Linked DNA regions of Homo sapiens: regions 1 and 3 are each linked to region 2. The links are contacts of gene promoters, found by promoter capture Hi-C in human tissues and cell types (Jung and others, 2019). All regions are on one chromosome and are shown on one strand. The core of a region is centred on a gene start or on the middle of the fragment in contact, and the rest is flanking DNA. Distances in the headings are between cores, read along the strand shown.

Region 1 (3,740 bases), core at 700-3,199, 39 kb before region 2:
CCAGCCTGGGCAACAGTGAGGTCCTGTTCTCAAAAAAAAAAAAAAAAAAAAGAAACAAAAAAAGGAAAGGAAAGGAAATAAAGAGAGAGAAAGAAAGAGAAAGAAAAAAGAAAGGTCCTCAATCTGGCAATATTGGCAGTATTTAGAGGTGGGGCCTTTAAGAGATGATTGGATCATGAGAGCTCTGCCCTCGTGAATGGATTAGTTCATTCACAGATTAATGGATTATCATGGGAAGGGACCTAGTGGCTTTATAAGAAGAGATCATGGCAATGGTGCACGACTGTTCTCCCAGCTACTTGGGAGGCTGAGGTGGGAGCATTGCTTGAGCCCAGAGATTGGAGGCCGCAGTGAGCTATAATCACACCACTGCACTTCGGCCTGTGCAAGAGAGTGAGACCCTGTCTCTAGAAAAAGAAAAGAATAGAAAAAAAATCACCAATTGGCAACCACCATAATAATAATAAATGATTCAGACAGGAATCACCAATAAATCCTGAAATTTGTGGATATAAATTGGATGAGGAACAGGACATTTATGTAGTCTAAAGTATCACAAAAATAATCATTTATTATTAATAGTACAAAATACTGTTTCACTTACAGTGATGAAAAAAGAGAGACATTATCTAAACCAATGGATAAAAGTTAATGTCACAGCTGGGCGCGGTGGCTCATGCCTGTAATCCCAGCACTTTGGGAGGCTGAGGTGGGGAGATCACCTGAGGTCAGGAGTTCGAGACCAGCCTGGCCAACATGGTGAAACCCCGTCTCTACTAAAAATACAAAAATTAGCCAGGCTTGGCGGCAGGTGCCTGTAATCCCAGCTACTCATGCCGCTGAGGCAGGAGAATCACTTGAACCCCGGAGGCGGAGGTTGCAGTGAGCCAAGATCATGCCATTGCACTCCAGCCTGGGCAATAAGAGTGAGACTCAGTCTCAAAAAAAAAAAAACAACAAAAACAGTAATGGGACAAATCACTATGTGCTTTCTGATGTGTGGCAGGAAAACCTATCACTGTGTGTTTTTCGCCAAAAATGCATAGATTGAATCTAATCATAAGAAATTATCAGGTAAGCCTAAATTTCAGAACAATCTACAATATAACTAAACTGTTCTTTTTAAAAATGTCAAGGTCATGAAAGACATGAAAGCCTGAGGAACTGTGCCAAATTGGAAAGACTAAAGAGGCAGAATAAGTACGTGCAATTCAACCTTGGATTGGACCCCAGACCTATAAATGACATCATTAGGATGACTGGTGAAATTTGAATGAGTTCTGTGGATAAATGAAAATGTAATATCTGGCCGGGCGCAGTGGCTCACGCCTGTAATCCTAGCACTTTGGGAGGCCGAGGCGGGCAGATCACGAGGTCAGGAAATGGAGACCATCCTGGCTAACACGGTGAAACCCCGTCTCTACTAAAAATACAAAAATTAGCCGGGCGAGGTGGCGGGCGCCTGTAGTCCCAGCTACTCCGGAGGCTGAGTCAAGAGAATGGCGTGAACCCCAGGGGGTGGAGCCTGCAGTGAGCCGAGATCGCGCCACTGCACTCCAGCCTGGGCGACAGCGAGACTCCGTCTCAAAAAAAAAAAACAAAAAACAAACAAACAAAATATATATATATGTATATATATATGTGTATATATATGTTTATTTCTTTATTTTGTGAGTATTACGTGGTTAATTAGGAGAGTGGTTTTCATTTTAGGAAATATGCACTGAAAGTATTACGGGGTAATGGAACTTCATATCCTCAATTTATTCTAAAAGTGTTCAGAAAAATAGAGTCTGGGCTCAGTGGCTCATGCCTGTAATCCTAGTACTTTGAGAGGCCAAGGTGGGAGGATAGCTTGAGCCCAGAAGTTCAAGACCATCCTGGGTAACACAGTGAGACCCCATCTCTATTTAAAAAAAGAGAGAGAGAAAAAAAAAAAAAACTGTGTGGCCAGGCGCAGTGGCTCATGCCTGTAATCCCAGCACTTTGGGAGGCCGAGATGGGCGGATCACCTGAGGTCGGGAGTTCAAGACCAGCCTGACCAACATGGAGAAACCTGGTTTCTACTAAAAATACAAAATTAGCCGGGCATGGTGGCACATGCCTGTAATCCCAGCTACTTGGGAGGCTGAGGCAGGAGATTCACTTGAACCCGGGAAGCGGAGGTTGTGGTGAGCCAAGAGCACGCCATTGCACTCCAGCCTGGGCAACAAGAGCGAAACTCCATCTCAAAAAAAAAAAAAAAAAAAAAAAAAAGCATTTGTGTGTGTATGTGTCTTGAGAGAGAGATAGAATAATAAGACAAATGTGATAGAACGTCAATAATTGGGTCATCTGAATGAAAATTTTATGGGAGTTCTTTGTAGTGTACTTGTAAGTTTTCTATAAGCTGAAATTATTTAAAAATAAAAAATTAAGATAATGTTTAAAAATAAATCACCATGCCTACAAGAAAATTTTTCTAACCTTTCAAGGAACAGATAATTCCAATTTAATACAAGGCTTCCAAAGGATATAAAAAGAAGAAACAGTCCTCAATTTAGTCTATGAGGCTAGTGTGATCTTGATACCTAAACTAGATATGGATAATATAAAAAATGAAAATTACAGACTAATCCCACTCGTAAACATAGGTGTGAAACTAAACAAAATATTAGTTTTTGTTTAGTTTCAAAACTGAATGCAACAAAACATAGAAAAGATACTACAACTTAAGTTCACTTTATCCCTGAAATATATTTCATCTAACACTAAAAATTTTTGTAAATGTAATTTATTACATTAATAGATTAAAGAAAAAAACACATTCTCAATAGTTGTAGGAAAAGCGTTTATGGAAAAACCCTTAGCAAACCAAGACTAGAGAGCAATTCTTGTTAGCCAAATAAAGACTATCTACAAAAACCTATAGTAAACATCATTCTTAGTAAAACTTTAGAAACTTTCTCTTTAAAAACCAGGATCAAGAAGAGGATGCTCACTGTTCTCATTTCTAGAGCTTGTAACCAATGCAGTAAGACAAGAAAGGGAGGGAGGAAGGAAAGGAGAGGAGAAGGAGAAAAGGGAGGTGGGCAGGTATTAGGAGTGAAAAGGAAGAAACAAAACTGGTTTTATTCAGAGATGATATAAATGTTTACATAGAAAACTCAAAATCCTTTAGACAAATTATTATAGTTAATAAGCTTAGTAAGATAGCTGGATATAAAGTCAATACACAAAATTCAATTACATTTTAGATTCATCAGCCTCAAAGAAAATATAATATCCCAAATGATATCAGTAACAAGAGCAAAATAGAGAACCTACTAATAAATTTAATAAAAGATGTGCAAGAAATTAAAGGAGACCTAAATAAATGCAGAGTAAGTCATGAGCCAGGTTCCTGGATAGGGAGATATAATCTCTAAAAATATGGTTTAAGAGCATAAACTTGATGGTTGACAAGTTATTTATCTGACTTATCTGCAAAATGGAGGTAATAATAGCACTTACCTCACAGGGCTGTTATGAGTATTACAAGATAATGCATACAAGAGGGATTAGAACGATGCCTGCCATGTAGGAAAGTTGTCTTGCACCATGCAGTGATCTTGAAATCAGAAGCCACACACAGCAGAGCAAAAAAATAAAATCCTGGTTCCCTGAACAACACTGCAGTGACCACCTCTCAGTTTTTATGTGAGAGTGAAATACACTTTTTTTTTTTCAAGACAGGGTCTTTCTCTGTTGCCCAGACTAGA
Region 2 (3,251 bases), core at 17-2,516:
CCAAGGGTTTGTTGCTGCTTTGTCTACAGCTGTAAAGTCATGCTCTTGACAATAAGTTCAGAAAGATTTTAATTTTACAGAATCTCTTAGGATCTTAGATACATGCTGCATTTTGTTTTCTACTCAATGTTTTTCTTTGCGGAGCATAGGGACAAGAATATAAAAAATACACTTTAATTTGATTTTCTTTCTTTTTTTTTTGAGACAGAATCTTGCTCTGTCGCCCAGGCTGGAGTGCAATGGCATGATCTCGGCTCACTGCAACCTCTGCCTCCCGGGTTCAAGCTATTCTCCTGCCTCAGCCTCCCGAGTAGCTGGGATTACAGGCGCGCGCCACCACGCCCAGCTAAGTTTTTGTATTTTTAGTAGAGACGGCATTTCACCATGTCAGCCAGGATGGTCTCCATCTCCTGACCTTGTAATCCACCCGCCTCGGCCTCCCAGAGTGCTGGGATTACAAGCGTGAGCCACCACACCAGCTTAATTTGATTTTCAAAAGTGATCATGGTTGCATTCACTTGTGTGTCATGACTTGGGTGCAATTTTAGGAAATTAAATACCAGTGATTGAGGGTTCAGCAATACAACTTCAAGATCCAAGATGTTAAGACACAACATTGTATATTTATACGTTTTGTTAGGGAGTTAATGTAGGTGTGGTGAACAGATGCGTTTTCAGGTGGGCCTGGAATGGTCCCTGGAGGATGATCAGCGACAAGCTGTATCTAATGGGAAAATTCATGCTTGAAAAATGAAATATTAGGCTATGCTTATTATTCTGTGTCATTCAGTCACTTATTAGCAGTTTAAGTGATGATTGTGGTTTCCCATGCAAACAGGTGTGGGGACCCAGCCTCAGGTGCCATTTGGGAAATGCTTTCCTCAGTCAGGTCCCTTGGCAGATCTCATTAGCTTTCCCCCCAAATGTTTTATTGAGACATTTCAAACATAGACAAAAACTGAAATAATTTTATATAAACACCATAGCCCACCACCTAGATGCTATGAACATTCTGCCATTCTTGTTTATCACGTTATTTATCCGTCCTCCTCCCCATCGGCAATCCTCCCCATAACTGTGGGGTCAGGGTTAGGAAGCTTAAGGTGACTCAGGTGGCGAATTCCGAAGGGTGCCGCTGGAGCACCTCCAGCCTCAACGTCCGGACTAATGGGGGCATTTCCTCCCTAACTCAATTTCAGGAAGCAGGAGGCTAGCTCTGCAGGGTGGGGGCGCACCTGGGCTGGGCTGCGCGGAGGCGGCGGAAGCACTAGGCGCGGCGCCCACAGGCGGACGGCTGGCGCTGAGCGCGGGCGCGGGGCCGCTACGTGCGCGGGGAGCGCGGGGAGCGCGGGGAGCGCGGGGCTGCGCTCGTGTGCGCTCCTGGGCGCTCGCCGCCGCCGCTGCCGCCGCGCGCCTTTGAGTCAGCAAACTCCGCGGCCCGCAAGCCCGGCTCGGCCCGGCCCTGCTCTGTTCTGCCCGGAGGAGCCGCCCGTAAGTGACAAGAGACCCGCTGAGGGGGCCTCCCCTGCACCGCCCAGGTGGGGACGGCGGCCCTTCTTTCCAGAGGCGCGGGCCCTTCCCGCTGTTCCCAGGTGCCCGCACCCTTGCGGGCTGGAAAGAGGTTTGGGTCCCTTGGGCTTGGAGCAGAGGAGCCGCCTCCTTTTCAGCCGAGGTGTGCCGGGCAGGGAGAAATGATCAGCGCGGTAGAGCGGGGAGATGGAGCGCGTCGATCCAGGGATTCTTGGCTAAAAAGACACCCCGGGGAGAGGGTGGGGCAGAGGTGGATTCTAGATTACGGAAGAAGTGCTGTGGCACCTTACACCAGGCCGGGTAGAAGGGGGTGGGGAGGTGGTTTTTAAAATTTATTTATTTATTTTTTTATTCATTCATTAACGGGTAGCCTTGAGTTGAGGAATTGGGAGGGGTAGGCAGGTTTATTCGTGGGATTGTGGGATTGAGGGAGAAGGCCCAGGGGAAAATCCATATAATTGACTGATTATCAGATTTGGTGACCAGGAAAGCAACAGCCTGTTTTTCAGTTCCGATGCATCATACTTTTCTCAAATTACACGGATTATTGAGGGGGATCGTCACGGAATGGGGAGCAACATGTCCTGCTGAAAGGAAGGGCTTCTATCTCTACAAGACACGTTAAAAATGATGGTATCAGAAAATTAGAACGGGGAGGAGGCTTGCACATGATCTCCATCAAACCTTTCATTTTACAGACAGGGAGGCTAAGGCCGAGGGACGCTGAGTGTTGGGACCAGGATCATTCAGCCAGATGGGAGCAGAACCAGGCCTACAACCTGGCAGGCTTCTGACTTCCACCCCGGAGTTATGTCCACCTCTGGGGCCTGGGAACTGGGTTTGGATTGCATAAGCTCCCCCTCCTCTCCCAGGAGGGGGCTGGGCTGGAGGCTGAGGCCTTCGCCAGGAAGAAGCAGGGACTGCTTGGATAGTTGACCAGCTTCTGCAGGGGCTCCTCAGTGAGAGAATGGAGGTGAGGTCAGGGACTCCTGCCTTGCCTCTGCCATCACTTCCAGTGATGCCTATTCCTAAGGTAGGTACATAGCTGGACCTTCATTATTCTTAATATTATTTACTTTTTTCTTTTTCTTTTGAGACAAGGTATTATTCTGTCACCCAGGCTGGATTGCAGTGGTGCGATCTTGGCTCACTGCAAACTCCACCTCCCAGGCTTCAGTGATCCTCCCACCTCAGCCTCCCTAGTAGCTGAGACCACAGGTGCGGGCCACCACACCCCTGGCTAACTTCGGTATTTTTTTTGTAGAGACAGGGTTTTGCCATGTTGCCCCAGGCAGGTCTGGAAGTCCTGAGCTCAAGCAATCCACCTGCCTCGGCCTCCCAAAGTGCTAGGATTACAGGGGTGAGCCACTGCGCTCGGCCTTTTATTACTATTTTTTAAAGGAAGGGTAGACTTGAGATTGACTGATAGGGCAGTTTTTAATAAAAATACAAAAATAAAATACATTTAGAAGAAACTGTGTGAAGATGTGAAATATCAGTGATTAGCATGGACTCAACTGGTCGTCCTGTTTCTTCTACCAGTCCATTTCATTCTCACTTTTGATTACCATTTAACTGGGGAGGACATCAGTGTTGACAGTGGGACTTGCTCAGGCTGACACTGTGCCCCACCAGGGAGTCTCCCCTCCAGGCTGGTACACACTTCCTCTTATTTTACTAATGGGAAGGACCCCTGAGTTAGGTAACCTAAAGTAATAGAA
Region 3 (3,313 bases), core at 496-2,995, 47 kb after region 2:
GGATATTATTACAGAAATTTCTAATTTTAAAGAAAAAAATATGGTACTTGTTTTTATTTGCACTTCTGTTAATAGCAAGATGAAACATTTAAGTAGATTATTGACCTTCTTTCAAAAACTTTATTTTTAATTGTGGTAAGAAACACATGAAATTTGCAATCTTACCCATTTTTATTATTTTTTTCACATGGTCTACACCATACTAGTGTATAGACCTTACCACTTTTTAAATGTACACTTCAGTAGCGTTAAGTGTATTCACATTGTTGTACAATAGATCTCTAGATCTTTTTCATTCACAGAAGTGAAACTCTGTATCAGTAAACAAGAATGTTCCATTTCCCCCTTAAATGCTCCTTTCACCCTTTCCTCTAGCCCTTGGCAACCACCATTCTACTTTGTCTTTATCAATTTAATTTCCTTGAAAACCTCATGTAAGTGGAATAATAAAGGATTTGTCTTTTTATGATTGGATTATTTCATTTAGCATAATGTCCTTAAGGTTCGTCCTCTTTTGTAGCATGTGGCAGAATTTCCTTCCCTTTTAAGGTTGAATGGTACCCATTGTATGGAGAGACCACATTTTGCTCATCCATTACATTTCATTGATGGACACTTAGGTTACTTCCACCTCTTGGCTATTGTGAATAATACTGCTGTGGATGTGGACCCACAAATAGCTCTTTGAGAGCCTGCTTTCAGCTCTTTTGGATGGATATCTGGAAGTGGAATTCCTGGATCATGTGGTAGTTTTCTGTAATTTTTTGAGGAACTGCTATACTGTTTTCTATAGCAGCTGCACCATTTTACATTGCTGCCAACAGAAGGGTTCCGATTTCTCCATATCCTCCTCAATGCTTTTTTGGTTTTTTGTTTCTTGGATCTATCCTAACGGGTGTGAGTTAATTTCTCATTGTGGATTAGTGATGTTGAGCATGTTTTCATATGTTTATTGGCCCTTTGCACGTCATCTTTGGAGAAACGTCTATCAATTCCTTTGTCCTTTTTTTTTTTTTTTTTTTTCTGTGAGACAGAGTCTTACTCTGTCACCCAGGCTGGAGTGCAGTGGCATGGTCTTGGCTCACTGCAGCCTCTGCCTCCCTGGCTCAAGCAGCCCTACAACACCAGCCTCCCGAGTGGCCTGGATTTCAGGCACATGCCACCATGTCTGGCTAATTTTTGTGTATTTTGTAGAGGTGGGATAGTAACTTCCCAATGAGTTCACCTTGCCCACTGCCTAGACAGAGCCAATTTATAAAGACGGGAATTGAAACGGCGAGAGAGTAATTTACGCAGACCCCGCTGTGTGGGAGACCAGCGTTGTTGCTGTTGTTTTGAGACTGCATCTCGCTCTGTTGCCCAGGCCTGGAGTGCAGTGGCGTGATCTTGGTTCACGCCATTCTCCTACGTCAGCCTCCCGAGTAGCTGGGACTACAGGCGCCCGCCACCACACCTGGCTAATTTTTTGTATTTTTAGTAGAGACGGGGTTTCACCGTGTTGTTAGCCAGGATGGTCTCGATCTCCTGACCTCGTGATCCGCCCACCTCGGCCTCCCAAAGTGCTGGGATTACAGGTGTGAGCCACTGGGCCCGGCCGGATTAGAGTTTTTAAAGACAATTTGGCGGGTAGGAGCTTAGGAAGTAGGGAGTGCTGATTGGTCAGGTTGGAGATGGAATCGTAGGGGGGTCAAAATGAGGTTTTCTTCCTGTCTTCTGTGCCTGGGTGGGATGGCAGAACTGCTTGAGCCAGATTACCACTCTGGGTGATATCAGCTGATCCTTCCAGTGCAGTTGCAGGGTCTGCAAAGTATCTAAAGCATGGATCTTAGGTTTTGCAATAACGATGTTATCCCCAGGAGCAATTTAGGAAGGTTCAGACCCTTGGAGCCAGAGACTACATGGCCCCTAAATTGTAATTTCTAATCTTGTAGCTAATTTGTTAGTTCTGCAAAGGCAGACTGGACCCCAGGCAAGAAAGGGGTCTTTTCGGGAAAGGGCTGTTACCAGTTTTGTTTCAGAGTCAAACCATGAACTGAATTCCTTCCCGAAGTTAGTTCAGCTTATGCCCAGGAATGAATAAGGACATCTTAAGCGTTAGAAGCAAGATGGAGTCGGTTAGGTCTGATTTCTTTCACTGCCATAATTTCCTCAGTTATAATTTTGCAAAGGCGGTTTCAGGATTTCGCCATGCCGCCCAGACTGGTCTCAAACTTTGAGGTCAAGTGATCCTCCCACCTCAGCATCCCAAAGTGCTGGGATTACAGGCATGTGCCCGGTCTTGCATATTTTTTAAATCGGATTTTTTATTTGTATAAATTTATGGGGTTCAAGTGCAATTTTCTTACATGCCAGGTTGCACAGTGGTGAAGTCAGGCATTTAGGGTTTTTTTCTTTGTTTTTGTTTGTTGTTGTTGAGCTTGATCTTTTTTTTTTTTCTTTTTTTTTTGACAGAGTCTCACTCACCCAGGTTGGAGTGCAGTGGCATGATCTCGGCTCACTGTAACCTCTGCCTCCCAAGTTTAAGCGATTCTCCTGCCTCAGCCTCCCGAGTAGCTGGAATTACAGGGTAGCTGGGATTACAGGCGCCTGCCACCATGCCTGGCTAATTTTTCTATTTTTAGTAGAGACGGGGTTTCACCATATTGGCCAGGGTGGAGTCTCGAACTCCTGACCTTGTGATCCACCTGCCTTGGCCTCCCAAAGTACTGGGATTACAGGCGTGAGTCACCCCACCTGGCCGATCTTTTTTTTTTTTTTTTAAATAGTTGGTTCTGAGACTTTGATCTTGCCAAAAGAAAAAGTTACAAAAAATTTTGTTTAAAAATTAAATTGGCTTTTATTAGTGATTCATGAATCAGGGAGCACCTGATCTAAAGATTTAGAAAAAGTCTTTGCCGTTTTTTTTTTAAATAATGATATAAACCATACTTGTTATTCCTTATTTCATCATTTGAAAAAATATGTGATCCTTTCTCACTCCTTACATGTATAGTCCACAAACTTTTGGTCAGTAGTTTACTTGTCAGTGAGATCTCCCATAGGCATATAGACCAAGCCTAGCATTGCAAATGTTTTGGCCTGTTGACCTCAGAAAGGTATTATTAAGGTATAGTATATATAAGTACTGAAGGCACAGTAATGGCTTGCTCTGTAGTAGGGGTCTGCAAACTACTGCCACCAGTTTTTGTAGATAAAGTTTAACTGGAACCCAGCCATGTTCATTCAGTTAGGCATCTGTGAGTGCCTTTTCACTATGCACTGCAGACTTGAGTAGGAGATGCAGAGACCCTGTGGCCTACAAAACCTCAAATAT

What was found. The method cuts DNA at HindIII sites, captures the fragments that hold promoters and counts their contacts. A contact is called where the count stands out against the background at its distance.
Region 1: a contact is called between a fragment that was not itself captured here and the fragment with the promoter of SNX10 in region 2, in 3 of the 25 tissues and cell types used here (liver, ovary and pancreas).
Region 3: a contact is called between a fragment that was not itself captured here and the fragment with the promoter of SNX10 in region 2, in 2 of the 25 tissues and cell types used here (liver and thymus).

What each region holds. Positions count from the first base shown.
Region 1 is chr7:26,250,766-26,254,505 of GRCh38, forward strand. No RefSeq gene overlaps it. Among named protein-coding and RNA genes, the nearest start is that of SNX10, 39 kb to the right of the region's middle. The HindIII fragment of the contact is 6,320 bases long and covers 1-3,740 here.
Region 2 is chr7:26,290,596-26,293,846 of GRCh38, forward strand. It overlaps SNX10 (sorting nexin 10), which reads left to right and starts at 1,267. Exons shown (of 7, transcript NM_013322.3): 1 at 1,267-1,491. RefSeq lists silencers at 1,291-1,530, 1,681-1,760. The HindIII fragment of the contact is 12,028 bases long and covers 1-3,251 here.
Region 3 is chr7:26,337,108-26,340,420 of GRCh38, forward strand. The region is part of intron 1 of SNX10 (sorting nexin 10); the gene reads left to right. Among named protein-coding and RNA genes, the nearest start is that of SNX10, 47 kb to the left of the region's middle. The HindIII fragment of the contact is 7,680 bases long and covers 1-3,313 here.